2 separate regions of the Homo sapiens genome follow, and region 2 is linked to region 1. The links are contacts of gene promoters, found by promoter capture Hi-C in human tissues and cell types (Jung and others, 2019). All regions are on one chromosome and are shown on one strand. The core of a region is centred on a gene start or on the middle of the fragment in contact, and the rest is flanking DNA. Distances in the headings are between cores, read along the strand shown. Region 1 holds the start of PYGO1 (pygopus family PHD finger 1). Region 2 overlaps NEDD4 (NEDD4 E3 ubiquitin protein ligase).

Region 1 (6,818 bases), core at 3,199-5,698:
ATTTTTATCTCCTCTGATGCTTTCTGTACATCACTTAAGACAAAAGAACACTCACTACTTCTTAGAATTCTTCTCCTTCCTTGATTCCCCAAAAGATGTGTTCCTTTATTTCCTATAAATAATCACAGCCCTTATCATGCTATTTGTAGCTATTTATTTGTCACTGTCCTGTACTAGACTTAACAATTTCTTGAAGACAGGTGTCATACCTTTTTTTTTTTTTTTTTTTGGTGGGGGCAGATAGGGTCTCACTCCAATTGCCCAGGCGGGAGTGGAATGGTGCGATCTCAGCTCACTGCAGCCTCAACCTCCCTGGGCTCAGGTGATTCTCCCACCTCAGCCTCCCACGTAGCTAAGACCACAGGCACATGCCACCACGCCCAGCTAATTTTTCGTACTTTTAGTAGAGACAGGTTGTCGTCCAGGCTGTTCTTAAACTCCTGGAGTCAAGTAATCCACCTGCCTCAGCCTTCCAAGGTGCTGGGATTACAAGCGTGAGCCACTGCGCCCAGCCAGGTGTCATATCTTAATTAGTGCATTCCCACTATATGGCACTGTGATTGCTCTATAAATATTTGTTGAATAAATGAATGAATATTGCCATCAGATCAATGCCTAAAAGAGTTCTAGGAATACTGGAGAATGGGAGTATTGGTTAAAATAACGATGGCAGTTGACATTCTAAGGGAAAAGGGCAAGTAAAAGTAGTATGAGGGGAAATGGACTATCAGAAAGCAGCATAATTCATGTATTCACTCATTCATTCATTTGACATTTACTATGGGCAAGGCAAATAAGATAATCAAGACATAGTACCTGTCCTCATAGATCTGTCTTATAATCAAAAGGTGAAGGTTTGGGGGTGGAGTGTTAAGAACTGGTAGAAAATAGGAGTAAGATACTGTGTCACTAAAGAGTAATTCTAAATCTATTGTTAAAATATAAGGACAGTTTGGAAGACCACAGCCAGCTGCTTCTGGTCTACTCACACCTTTATAATCTAGGTCTATTAGTGGCATTTCTCAAACTTCAGTATGCATAAGGAGCACCTGGGGATCTTGTTAAAGATGCAGAAGTCCCAACTCTGTGGATCCCAGAAGTCCTGATTCCGTAGATCCACGAATCTATATTTTAATAAGCATCACAAGTGATTATGATGCTTTTGGTCTGCAGAGCATGCTACTGTAAAGTCCTCAGTCATTCATGTTTTAGTTTTGCCATATCTGAGTTCTACCTATAATATTACTTTCTTAATAATTCATGTAATTGCTATATGTGTGTTAATAATTCATTTAAATTGCTATATGTGTGTATTTATACACATATGTATCTTAGCCTTATCCTAAGCAAGGTATTTGGTGACTCTTTTAATACATATAAAATAAATACACAACCATTAAAAAGGTCTGTCTCTATCACATCAGCAGATGGGAAACAGTTTGAAAAGCACTGCTCCAGAGTTTATGCCCTGCAAACACCACATCCTGCATGCAGTCTGATGATATAAATTACATTAAATAACAAAAAGCTCCAGGGCAATGAAGTTCAGCAGAATGGTGCTTCAGAAGAGCTAATCATAAAATATTCCAAAAAATTTTTTAATGAATGTTCTAATTATTACAAAATGACATTAAGAAAATTCTCCCCATAACATAAAAATACTGACTTTTTATTTTAAAAAGTGTTTTGTCTTTTATTCTGGTACTTAACTCTCAGAATATTCTTGAGCTGACACCGGAGCCAACCCCAATAGCTACGCCATAGAACTTAACAGCAGTTGGAACAAAATGAAGATATATCTGTGTTCTTGACCCACAATAAAACACTCATCCATTTTATTTAGAATTAAATTTGATTAGGACTGATAATTCAGTTCAAAGGTATAAACTTGATAGCTCTTTCTTTTCCTTTAACCCCAAAACAATTTATAATAGTAGGCAAAATTATACAGCACAAATATCAGGGGAATAATTGTATCTCAGGAAGGTCTATTCCTTAAAGGCTTTGGCAACTCACAACCACAAACAGAAAAAGACAATTAAAATATTTCACCAAATTAAAGGTTGTGCTGATATTAAGCCTTTAAAAACAATATTCTCTAAATTATGTTTTCTCTTAAATGGCTAAGAAAATCATTTTCTACCAAAATACTCTTGAGTGGATGTCTTTTGGATTGTGTGTCACAAGCTAGTTCTATACATGTTTAATTTCTAGTCACATTGAACAAAAACAAAAATGAATGACTGTGGTCCTTCATCTCTACATCACTTAAGTCAGCCGGAAATTTACCTTCCTACTTACTGATTTATAAAGCATTTTACCCTGTTTACCCTGTTTGGATGACTATTGCAATCACCTCCCTACTAGTCTCCCCTGCTTCAGCCTTTTCTCTACAGTCTATTCTCCGCACAGCAGCTTAAGATGCCCTGTTTAAAATGTCAGATCACTCACTCTTATGCTCAAAACTCTGCAGACCTTTTCTCAGAGTAAAAGCCAAAGTCTTTTAAATGGCACACCAGGCCCTCTAATACACAATCATCCTATAGCCGGCAGCATTAAGACTACTGAACGACTGTAATTTTACTATTAAAATGCTATAATTTAAAAATGTACTCTTAATGATATCTATCACCTTTGCTCACTTTTCAAGAATCAAATAATTCTTGATCCTACTCCTTAGCCCCTGTCACAGGACTCTTTCCTTGCTCACTTTGCTGCAGTTACAATAGCTTCTTTGCTGTTGATTGCACACACTGGGCATATTCCAGACACAGGGGCTTTGCATTTGCTGTTGCTTTTCAGAGACTGCTCTTCCCACGTGAATTCATATGGCCCTGGCTCTATCATTTCCTTTAGGTCTTTGCTCAAACATTATCTACCAGGTGAGCCCTTTCATGATCACCTTACATACAATCCATACTTCCCATCCCCACACATATTTCCTCTCCTCTATTCCTGTTTTGTTGTCCACCATACCACCTACGATTTGACATTCTGTATCTACTGTTTATCATTTGTTTATCCCACAAGAGGGTGAACTCCTACTGGATGAAGATTGTCTATCTGCTTTGTTCACTGCTGTATCCCAGTAACAAGAACAGTGTCTAGCACATAGTAGATGTTCAATAAATATTTGCTTAATGAACAGTGAGTACTACTCCAACTCTAGAACTTTCAGTCTTAACCTTATTAAGAGCTAAAAGGCATCCCCCAATTTCCGGGTGGCATTTGACTTTTGTGAACTTATATGCAGTATCTTTTGTTTGACACATGGTTCCCTCTGATTTTTCTTAGATGATAGTAACACGAAAGGAAAATTCCTAACCAGTGCGCAAGAAAGAAGAAAATCAACCATGCATAACACTGATTTTAGATAATATCTTATCCATAAACCAACAGAGAAAATGCCTTCTGAATTTGTAGCTTCTCCTCTTAAACCTACGGAAAATAAACTGAATATTTGTTGCCTTTGCCGGGGTGGGGGGGCGAGAAGGGGGCCAGGAGAGACGTGAAAGCCCAGGAGCCCTTCTTCAACAGCATCAACTCTTGTGTACTCCAACTTACTTTTTTTGAGGGGGTGGGCACCGTTCGAGGTCTCTGCCAGGGGGTGTCTGTTTTTCACCCTTTGAGGTGCCTATTGTGCTGTCTTGAGAACGAGGAGAGGTGGGTGAGGAGGGGGTAAGAAAGGATGCTGCTTGCGGCTCCAACTGCCTCCGAACACAAAGTCGGGAGGCGAGGGATCCGCGCGGATGTCTCGGGGGCCAGCGGGCGCCCGGGCCGCGCGCTCGGATCGCAGCCTCGGCCCCGGGGTGCCGGCGGGACGCGGGCTGCGCGGACTTAGGCCCGGACAGAGCCCCATGGCCTCCCGGCGGCCGGGCACGGGGCCCCGCGCACCTCACTCACCCCGGTTCCCCCAATCCGGCACCCTTCTCGGTTACCTCGAACTCTCTTCAGCGAAATGGGATCCTTCTCCTGTTCTGCTGACATTACAGACCGCAAAGCATGACTCCCCCCCAGGCCGCGGGAATTCGGTCTCTTTGATGCTGCGGCGGCGGCTCCTCCTCCTCGCGGGGCCGCTGCGGCTGCGAGGCAAGCCTCGGAGCCGAGGCACGGCCGAGGGCGGTGGGGACGCGGGCCGACTTTGCAAAGTTTGGGAGGAGGACGAGGCCTCGGGGCGGCGGGGCGGCGGGGCGGCGTGCGGGCACCGGCGGGGCTCAGCGGCGGTGGCCGGGAGCGCGGCCTGGGGGCGGCCCCCCACCCGGGGCCGGCATGTGCTGAGGGCGAGTGCGCCGCCGCCGCCGCCGCCTCCTCCCACTCCTTCTTCTTCGCCGCCGCCTCAGGAGCCGCTGACAGGGGAAGCAGGAGGCTCGCGGCCCGGCCCTGGCGGCACACTCACAGCGCCCTCTGAGGAGGAGGTCTGCTCTCTCGCCGCTCCCGAGTCGCAGACACAAAAGCCCCCAGACTGGAGCCGCCTGTAAAACCCGCTCTGGGGCGGGCGAGGGACGTGGCGCGGCCCCGCGGCTTCCCCGCCCTGAGCTCCCCAGCCCCGCGCGGGGACGGGCTTCGGGGGGCGGGGGCCGCTGCCTCGTCCCGCGGCGCCTCCCGCCACCGCCGCCGCCTCGCGCTCCGCCTCGGCCCAGCCCCCACGGCCCGCGCGCGCCTCTTGCTCCAAGCCGGGGCTCGCGGGCCCGCGGCTCTTGCAGCCCGGGTGGGCAGCGCGCGCCTAGGGGCCGCCCCGCCCCGCGCCCGGCGCTCCCTCGCCGACCGCCAGGCCCGAGAACGCCCGACCCCGCGGCCGACGCTACCGGGCCCAGCTTTCGCAAGGAAAGGGCATCTCCGAACTTCGTCGGAGGCCACAGCAGCAGGCGTCTCGGCCTCGCAGCTAGGGATCGGAAAGATGAACGTACCATGCGAGGAAACTTTGTAAGCGGGAGCTGGAGAGTTCTCGGCGGGCATGTGGGGATCCAGATTCCCCGACTCCGTGTCCGCGTGGCCGTGGTGTGGACACCTGTCTGTAGAATGCCTCCACTTGGTATTTTAACGACTTGACTCTTCAAGAAAGAGCGACGTAGAATAAATACCAGAAAGGACGGTGGGCGGGGGAGGGGGGAGCGTGGGTAGAAGCGGTGACGCGGCTGGATCTCATTTAGACGTTAAATTTTAGGAGGAACACCCCCAGTGTGATTGTAAATTAGATGTGATCACCGGTCCACATTCTTCAGTTGGGCTGTGTGACCGGAGGCGACTTAGGTAACCTCTCTGGGTCTCAGTTTTCTTGTCTATAAAAGGCAGTGGGGCTACATCTCGAAGGTCTCTTCTAGCTCCGACATTGTTTAACGCACTTCTACGAAATTGTTTTCCCTGGTTTTTGTTTTTTGTTTTTTGTTTTTGTTTTTGTTTTGCTAGGTTTTCTGGTTATCCACTGGGCTTATTTTGATGTAAGAATCACCGAAAAGCACTCATGAAGCGTGGGAGGACACAGAACTAGCTACAGACAGGAGTCTCGTCCTTCCGGAGACAGACACCCAACTCATTCAGCTGCACAGTGTCACAGAGAACAGATGTTAACATGAAGCCAATGTACAGCCTCAACAGCTGCATACCAGACAATCGCCACAGCGGCTGATCGTCGTTAAGACATAGCGTGGCCGGAGGCAAATGTTACCCTTTATCTAATAAGGGTGGTCTGGAATTATGGAATTCCTGATTAGAAGAGTCAGACTAGGACAGGCTAAGGAAAATATTCTTACAGGAAGCACTCTGAGGAGAAGGTTCCTCCTAACTAGAATGTAAGCGCCATGCAGGCAGGAATTTTGACTGGCTCACTGCTGTATCCTCTGGTACCTAATACTGAGTAACACATAGTAAGTGTTCGGGAAAATATTCATTGATGTATGAATAAAGAGATTTGAAGTGGCCCTGGGACGACTGGGGTGGCAGGGCTTTGGTAAGTGTAATAAAGCCGAAGCAAATGGTAATATAATAAAGCAGATTGGGGGCCGGGCGCGGTGGCTCACGCCTGTAATCCCGGCACTTTGGGAGGCCGAGGCAGGCGGATCATGAAGTCAGGAGATCAAGACCATCCTGGCTAACACGGTGAAACCCCGTCTCTACTAAAAATACAAAAAAAAAATTAGCCGGGTGTGGTGGCGGGCGCCTGCAGTCCCAGCTACTCGGGAGGCTGAGGCAGGAGAATGGCGTGAACCCGAGAGGCGGAGCTTGCAGTGAGCCGAGATCGCGCCACTGCACTCCAGTCTGGGTGACAGAGTGAGACTCTGTCTCAAAAAAAAAAAAAAAAAAAAATTAAAAATAAAGCAGATTGAATCTAATAATCTATGTTATAGGGTGGTTGGAGGAAAATTTGAAAGCACTTTGGTAAGTCAACAAAGAAATGAAGGCCAGCTGTGGTGGCTCACGCCTGTAAATCCCAACACTTTGGGAGGTTGAGGCGGGAGGATCACTTTAGCCCAGGAATTTGAGACCAGCCTGGGTAACAAAGCTAGACCCTTCTCTACAAAATAATTTTTAAAAATTAGCCAGGCGTGGTGGCACCGGCCTATAGTCCCAACTACTCAGGAAACTGAGGCAAGAAGATCCCTTAAGCCCAGGAGTTCAAGGTTGCAGTGAGCGATGATTACACCACTACACTTCATCCTGGTTAACAGAGCAAGCAAGACCCTGTCCCCCCTCCAGAAAAATATGGAAATGACATATTTTCATTTTATAACTCTTAGTGGAAGGAGAATGGTTCAGAAAAATCATTGCTAAGAGATTTTGAGTTCTTTATTGTAATTCCCTAAAGCTAGAGACTCAGAAAT
Region 2 (6,818 bases), core at 1,595-4,094, 280 kb after region 1:
CGTGCATGTGGGCAAAACTTGGAGCAGGTTACTAAATAATGAAATGCTGTTAAATTTTTTCAAGTTACTAAATAAATAATTTTCTTTCTTTACAGCAGATATCCTTCATTTCAAACAGAATTCCATTATTCGAGATACTCTGGTACACCAAAAAGCCAGGTAGAGAAACTTCTACTGAATGAATACTTGAAAACTTTAAAAACAATTATACGAAAATCAGAGAAAAATACCTAACAAAAAGTTAATCAAATAAGTGAAGAGAGTTCTTTGATCACCAAACCAGGGGCTATCTATACTCTGTGATTTGAAGAAAAAAGGTTCTTTCCTGGCTGGGTGCCGTGGCTCACGCCTGTAGTCCCAGCACTTTGGGAAGCCGAGGCGGATGGACGGCTTGAGGCCAGGAGTTCAAGACCAGCCTGGCCAACATAGTAAAACTCTGTCTCTACTAAAAATACAAAAATTAGCCAGGCATGGTAGCACATGCCTGTAATCTCAGCTACTTGGGAGGCTGAGGCATGAGAATTACTTGAACCCAGGAGGCAGAGGCTGCAGCGAGCTGAGATTGCACCACTGCACTCCAGCATGGGCCACAGAGCAAGACTCTGACTCCAAAAAAAAAAAAAAAAGGTCTTTCCTTCTATTATTATAGATTCTCCTGCAAAGCAAAATCTCATTAGTGCATTTAAAATTTTCCCAGAAAGCTCTGCTGCAAATTCACTACCTGTTCTAGAGCTTTTCTTTCTCAAGGTACATGGGCATGTGAGGTAGAGCCTAGCCCCTGGGGAAGGCCCTCAGCTTCACTGTTCTTATGGAGACCTAAGCAGGCCCTCAGTCAGAGGAGAAAGTGTTAAGCAAGGCAACAAATAAGAACCCTCCAGAGCAATTTGGTGCCATACGCTGTGTGCTTTGCTTTCAGTAACTGCTGTTAATATGGTTTGGCTGTGTCCCCACTCAAATCTCATCTTGAATTGTAGCTTCTATAATCCCCTCGTGTCGTGGTAGGCACTCAGTGAGAGGTAACTGAATCATGAGAGTGAGTTTTTCCGGTGCTGTTCTCATGATAGTGAATAAGTCTCATGAGATCTGATAGTTTTATAAAGGGCAGTTCCCTGGCACACACTCTCTTGCCTGCCACCATATAAGCTGTGCCTTTGCTCCTCTTTCACCTTCCACCATGATTGTGAGACCTCCCCAGCCATGTGGAACTGAGTCCATTAAACCTGTTTTTAAAGCTTTATAAATTACCCAGTCTCTGATATTTCTTCACAGCAGTATGAAAATGGACTAACACAGCTACTGAATAAATGATACTTCTTTTTGATGATAATGTGCTTTCAAAGGGAACCTCAACGAGCAGGTGTTTTTTTGACCCCTTTCCAAATCATAAATTTTTTTGCTGGAAGAAACCCTCGAGGTCATCTGATGCCATCCTGTCACTCTGCAAACAAGATCCTGAGGTTCGGAAAAGTTCAATGACTCACACAGGTCTGGCTAGACAGAGTGTGCAACTAGGATTCCAGTCTCCAAACCCTATCCAATTCTATTCCAAATACATACTTTCTGCCTCCTACTTGCTTACTCCAGATGCATGTAACTCTACACAAATCTTGACTTGGACTTTCCTCTCATCCTGTCATCCATGAAAATTGTTAAATTCTACTTGCCCCACATACAGAAGGCTCTTTATTAGATCACTTAAATTTTCCTTGCTCCCTAATTCCCCTCCTTTCCTATGAGCCCTCCCACCATAATAAGAATATTAACAGGACTTAAATTTCATAAAAGAGTTCCTAATCAGTGGAGTCTCCTCAAAATGTCCATATATTTAACTTCAAAATACTAAATTGTGTTCTTACTTTAATGGAGAATATACAGTTTTAGAAAACTTTGAAAAACTAGATTTATATTCTATTCTCTACTCCTTAACCTTTAAGAAGGCCATCAATAATGGCCATTCCTTCTACGGAAATATCCTTAGAGGGAAAACTATTAATGCTTGGGTGAAATAAACATCCAAGTAAATAATCTTCATTGCACATGTTAACTTCATTCAATAGTTATTGTTCTTCAGAGTACAGTAAAATAAGAAATTAAAATTTTTTTAGTTTAACCAAATATTTATAAAATCTCACCTCTAATTCCTCAGCCTGTTCTGCATTATCATCTTCTGAGCCACTGGTTTTAGGTAAATAAGTCATTTTTAGTCTCAGATAACCTTTAACTCTTGATTTGTGACTGTAGAAAAGAAAATAAATATTCATAAAACTTTAACACCGGGAGAAAAGTATTCAATTAATAAGAGTTTAATGAACACCCACTAGGTACCAGGGGGTCTACAAAGGGAGGTTCAAAGACAAGTTCCAGGGCAGAAGATATCTAGGGAAAGGAATAGAAGGTAGAGAAAAGGCAAACATATATAAATAAATAAATAAATAAATAAATAAATAATTGTTATGACACAAAGAAGATGCTAAGGAAGTTTAAGTGAACGATCAGAGACAATGTCAAAGAGAAGCTGGCCTTTGAGTTGGGGTTAGAAGACTGGGGAGGATTCTTACCTGTGGCAGTAGAGGAAAAGGCATATGAGTAAAGAAGAGGGCAAGATCCAGGAAACAGATGGGAAATTTGGGGTGCAATTAAGGAAATTGCAGTAGTTGAGTTTGGCTAGATTATAGGACATGTAAAGGGGACTACAGGAGATTGGGATGGTCCAGAGGTCATGCAAAATCAGACAACTTCAGACTTTATTTTGCATATTTTGGTAAATCACTGAGAATTTGGGGGATAGAGAAAGGTATCCTCAGAGATGTGCTTTAGGGATGCTAATCTGGCCATATTTTTTTGGATGACAGAAGAGTAGAGGGCAAGGCCTGATCAGTGTCTGAAACCTGCTACATCTCTTTGGCAGCTGTTTGAATCTGTCACACATTAATTTACCTAATCTATTTTTATATTGTATCACCTTTTTGAATAATCAGTTGTCTAAGCTAAAGGCTGCTGCCTGCTGTAGTAATATTTTAAATCTTTTGAAAACCTGTCTTTCATAAGCTGCTGCTGCTTTTTTTTTCTTCTTCTTCTTCTTCTTTTTTTTTTTTTTTTTGTTTTGAGACAGCATCTCCCTCTGTCGCCCAGGATGAAGCACAGTGGCTCAATTACGGTTCACTGCAGCCTTGACCTCCCAGGCTCAGGTGATCTTCACACCTTAGCCTCCTAAATAACTGGGACTACAGGCACACACTGCCATGCCCGGTTAATTTTTGTATTTTTTTGTAGAGACAGGGTTTTGCCATGTTGCCCAGGCTGGTCTGGAATTCCTGGGCTCAAGCAATCCACCCACCTAAGCCTCCCAAAGTGCTACAATTACAATGCTTTCATAAGGTTCTAATTTAAGGCTTAATTCTATTGTCCTCATCAATTCTAGTATCCTATGATTTACTTAAGAAATCCTTACTTGTCTCAGCTCTCTATATAGATTTTTTGGGGATGATTTTTTACAGATATCAGATATGTAGCAATTACCCTTTGTCTTTCTAGACAAGAGTCCTAATCCTTTTATTCTGTCTTCAAGAGATTACCTACCCCCACTCCCAAGCCTCCCCTAATCTTTTTAGCTCTTCTCTGTATGGTTCTCATGGATTTGGCAAATTTAGTGTATCCTTTCATGAGTAGTCAGTGAAATCCTGATGCTTATTCCCAAGGCCGCTAATGTGGCTTGTGTCTCCATACTGAAGGAGATGTGAACATTCTGACTTGTGGCTATAAAAGATGGATACAGAAAATGTGCTCAGACAATGTTTTGTTGAAAAGTTTCTCTACAATTGTATGTTTCATGTCTTTTCAATTGGAAAAGAAGCCTCAAGGTTTTGACTTAATGGGGCTCACACAAATTTAGGAATGTAGTACATTTTCTATCTGAATAAAGTTCTTTCTACACTTGCAATAATATTCATTGCAGACAGAAGAAACAAATTGTATTTTTTAAAGATAAAGACGCTAGAAAGCATGTGACAAATTGAAAAGCAGGCTGCTAGGACAATCAAATAAGAAAAAACAATTTAGTTATTCTTGATATGCAGATGTCACAATCAGTCTAAAATTAAAAGACTAAAAGAGATTTACATTCCAGACATCTACAGAAATTAAATGTGACTTCCTTTATAGAGAGTAAATATTAACAGTCAGTGAGCACTCCTTTTCATTTTTTTAATATTTACATTACAAACAGTAATTTAAAAAATCATTTTTAAGTGAAAAATTTTACTAAGTTCCAAAAGTACATTTTCAAATGCATTTTATAGTTTAAGAAACAAGACAAATACTGTTGCTTTCACAGATGTCCTTTCTCTGCTTTAGTTTGACCTTTTTGACAGTAAATCCACACACGTTTTCACTAGATTTTACTTGTCAATGAGGTATAGAAGATCAAAAGGAGTTTTAGTTACAGCTTAAATTTAAATTTTTTTGATAAACATCAAGTAACTTTGTTTGGGAAAATGGAATTATAAGCATGCTATTTGGGTTTTAAATTCCAGTCTTATGTTATTTTCTCTAAATATTTGAGTCTTCTGAAATACTAAGTATGCAAAATATAGTTAGGTTTTTCTGAAATTGGCTTTGTGCACGTCGAGTTAGGTAATGGTTTTAGATGAATTCATGTTTGTGATTTTTTAAAGCATAGTATGACAATATGACATAAATAGCCTTCTAGTCTGATAAGTATTAGGAGAACGAATCTTTCCCAAAAGGCTGTGATCACTTTCTGTATTTTCAGAATGTTTTGCAATGTGCATACAGTACTTTTAATCAGAAATAGCAATGAAGCTTTTAAAATAATAATAATAATAATAATAATATTTAGAAGTAACTTATTTACAGAGGTTTAAACCCTGAATTTCTAATAAGGCTACTGTAAGGTGTAATGAAGAGATAAAAAATTTAATATGCTATTATTATTTTATATTTACTGACCTTCTTGGATGAAGAACAAAATCCTTAAATGTATATGGTCTCTCCAATCTTGGATTTTCTGTCTAGAATAAAATAGTGGGTTTTCAAAATATATCTATAACACCAAAAGCATGTACTTTTCAAGAATACTCATGAACTATCACCTAAGGCATAATTTAAGTTGGAAGTGAGAAAAAAAAGTAGCTTTAGTTTATCAAATGCTAACTTGACAGTGCTTTCACTTTCCTGCCCAAGAGGAATTGCAGCCGACATCACAACTCAAATGAAAACTAGCTGAGCAGGTGGGTTGTGGAGCCAAAGGGAGGGCAGAAGAGAATAAGCAGAAAAACAGTATAGAGTGGTTAGTATGTTAACATCCCAAAAGAACACGGACTATGCACATGTCTGCAGGCTGGCTTGGTTAGAGCATAGAGATAATTCTAGGAGATCAAAAAAGTCAACAGCCTGGAAAGTAAGACTGGATTAAATATATTACTGAAAGCTTATGGTCCTGCACCCTGTTTAAAAAAAAAAAAAAAAGATTATGCTCTGGAAAGACTGTGGAGAGCCAATTAATATAACTCACAAGACTGAAAAAGAAGTATTTTTTCTCTTTCTTTAAAATTCAGCAGTTGTTAGTTTTTATTATCCTTCTCTGATGTTCTGCATTGTTAACTACCCAGTCTGCCTTGAAACTCCTTTCTTAAATTCTCATGACATTATTTTACTTGGCTCTTTTCCTGTTTCCCCTTGTCTGTCTTCTCTTTCTTTTCTGATCCACTCACGTTGACTGAGGGTCAATGGCTGGCCCTCCGTTCTTATCTCTTTCATCAGGAGAGCCCATTATTCTCAGAGATTCTGCTGTTATCTGGACAGTGATAACACTCAATCCTTCCAGTCCCTTTTCCCTACCTAGCTGATTTTTATCTCTCTGTCAGCAGTCTACTTTAAACTTTCATTTTCTTTGTTTCCTATCAAAACTCTGTTTGTCCAAAAATAAATTTTTTGCTTTTCAAAACAAAATGGCTTTTCTTCCTCACTTTTCTACAAGAGACGCCACTCTTATCTTCCAAGTTCAACTTGTATTATCTTTACTTCTTGCTTATTTTCTTAAGCCTCCATGTCAGACATGTGATTCAATAATGTTCTATTTTGCAATGTTTCCTGAATCTGTTTTTCTCCTTGCTATATTCTTAGTCCTGATTCTTAGTGTTTTATGTTTCCATTGTCGTAAACTATCTTAGTTTTCTTCTGTGAGCTTAGGCACTCCTCATTCTAGTTATTCAGCAGAATATTTTCAAACTAATCTTTTTTACACAATGTTTTCACAATGCCAACAAACATCAGAAATTCTCTATTTCTCACTGGGGTTCATGAACGGAAATCTTAAAGAGAAAATGGAAACGGAAAATTGAAATGAGTTTTTAGAAAACAGTATGCTCAATAAATAAAAGTAGTATACATTTGATAAATCAATTATTTACAGTAGCTATATTATATATGTAAGTATTTATTAAATTAAAAAAATAAGCCCAAAAGGAAAATCATGGACACCTATACCAACCGGTAATGGATAAAGTGGAACATCCACTTGACCTAGGAAATCATCTCTTGTCTATAAGAGAAGGAAGAAAAAATATAATTAGTAATACGCTCAATTCCTTTAGAAGAGTTTGATGAGATAGTGCCACCATTCACAGAAAATGTAGAGTTTTTTTTTTATTCAGTCATATGCAGCATCAATGGAAAATAAAAAGTAATGTGGTACAACTTCTGGTAATGGCAGAGTAGCATATATTAGATTAATCCTTCTGCAGATAACAATTATATTCTGTGACAAAATACTAAAAGAGCTATTTGAAAGTACAACA

What was found. Contacts are between HindIII fragments. The study calls those that stand out against the background at their distance.
Region 2: a contact is called between a fragment that was not itself captured here and the fragment with the promoter of PYGO1 in region 1, in 1 of the 25 tissues and cell types used here (mesendoderm cells).

The regions. Positions count from the first base shown.
Region 1 is chr15:55,583,897-55,590,714 of GRCh38, forward strand. It overlaps PYGO1 (pygopus family PHD finger 1), which reads right to left and starts at 4,449. Exons shown (of 3, transcript NM_001367806.1): 1 at 3,939-4,449. The coding sequence starts at 3,987. It overlaps LOC124903497 (a long non-coding RNA gene), which reads left to right and starts at 4,654. Exons shown (of 2, transcript XR_007064647.1): 1 at 4,654-4,923; 2 at 5,407-6,818. RefSeq lists silencers at 4,221-4,270, 4,351-4,470. The HindIII fragment of the contact is 20,429 bases long and covers 1-6,818 here.
Region 2 is chr15:55,867,447-55,874,264 of GRCh38, forward strand. NEDD4 (NEDD4 E3 ubiquitin protein ligase) reads right to left here. Exons shown (of 29, transcript NM_006154.4): 6 at 6,512-6,562; 7 at 4,969-5,030; 8 at 2,133-2,235. Among named protein-coding and RNA genes, the nearest start is that of NEDD4, 120 kb to the right of the region's middle. The HindIII fragment of the contact is 4,581 bases long and covers 555-5,135 here.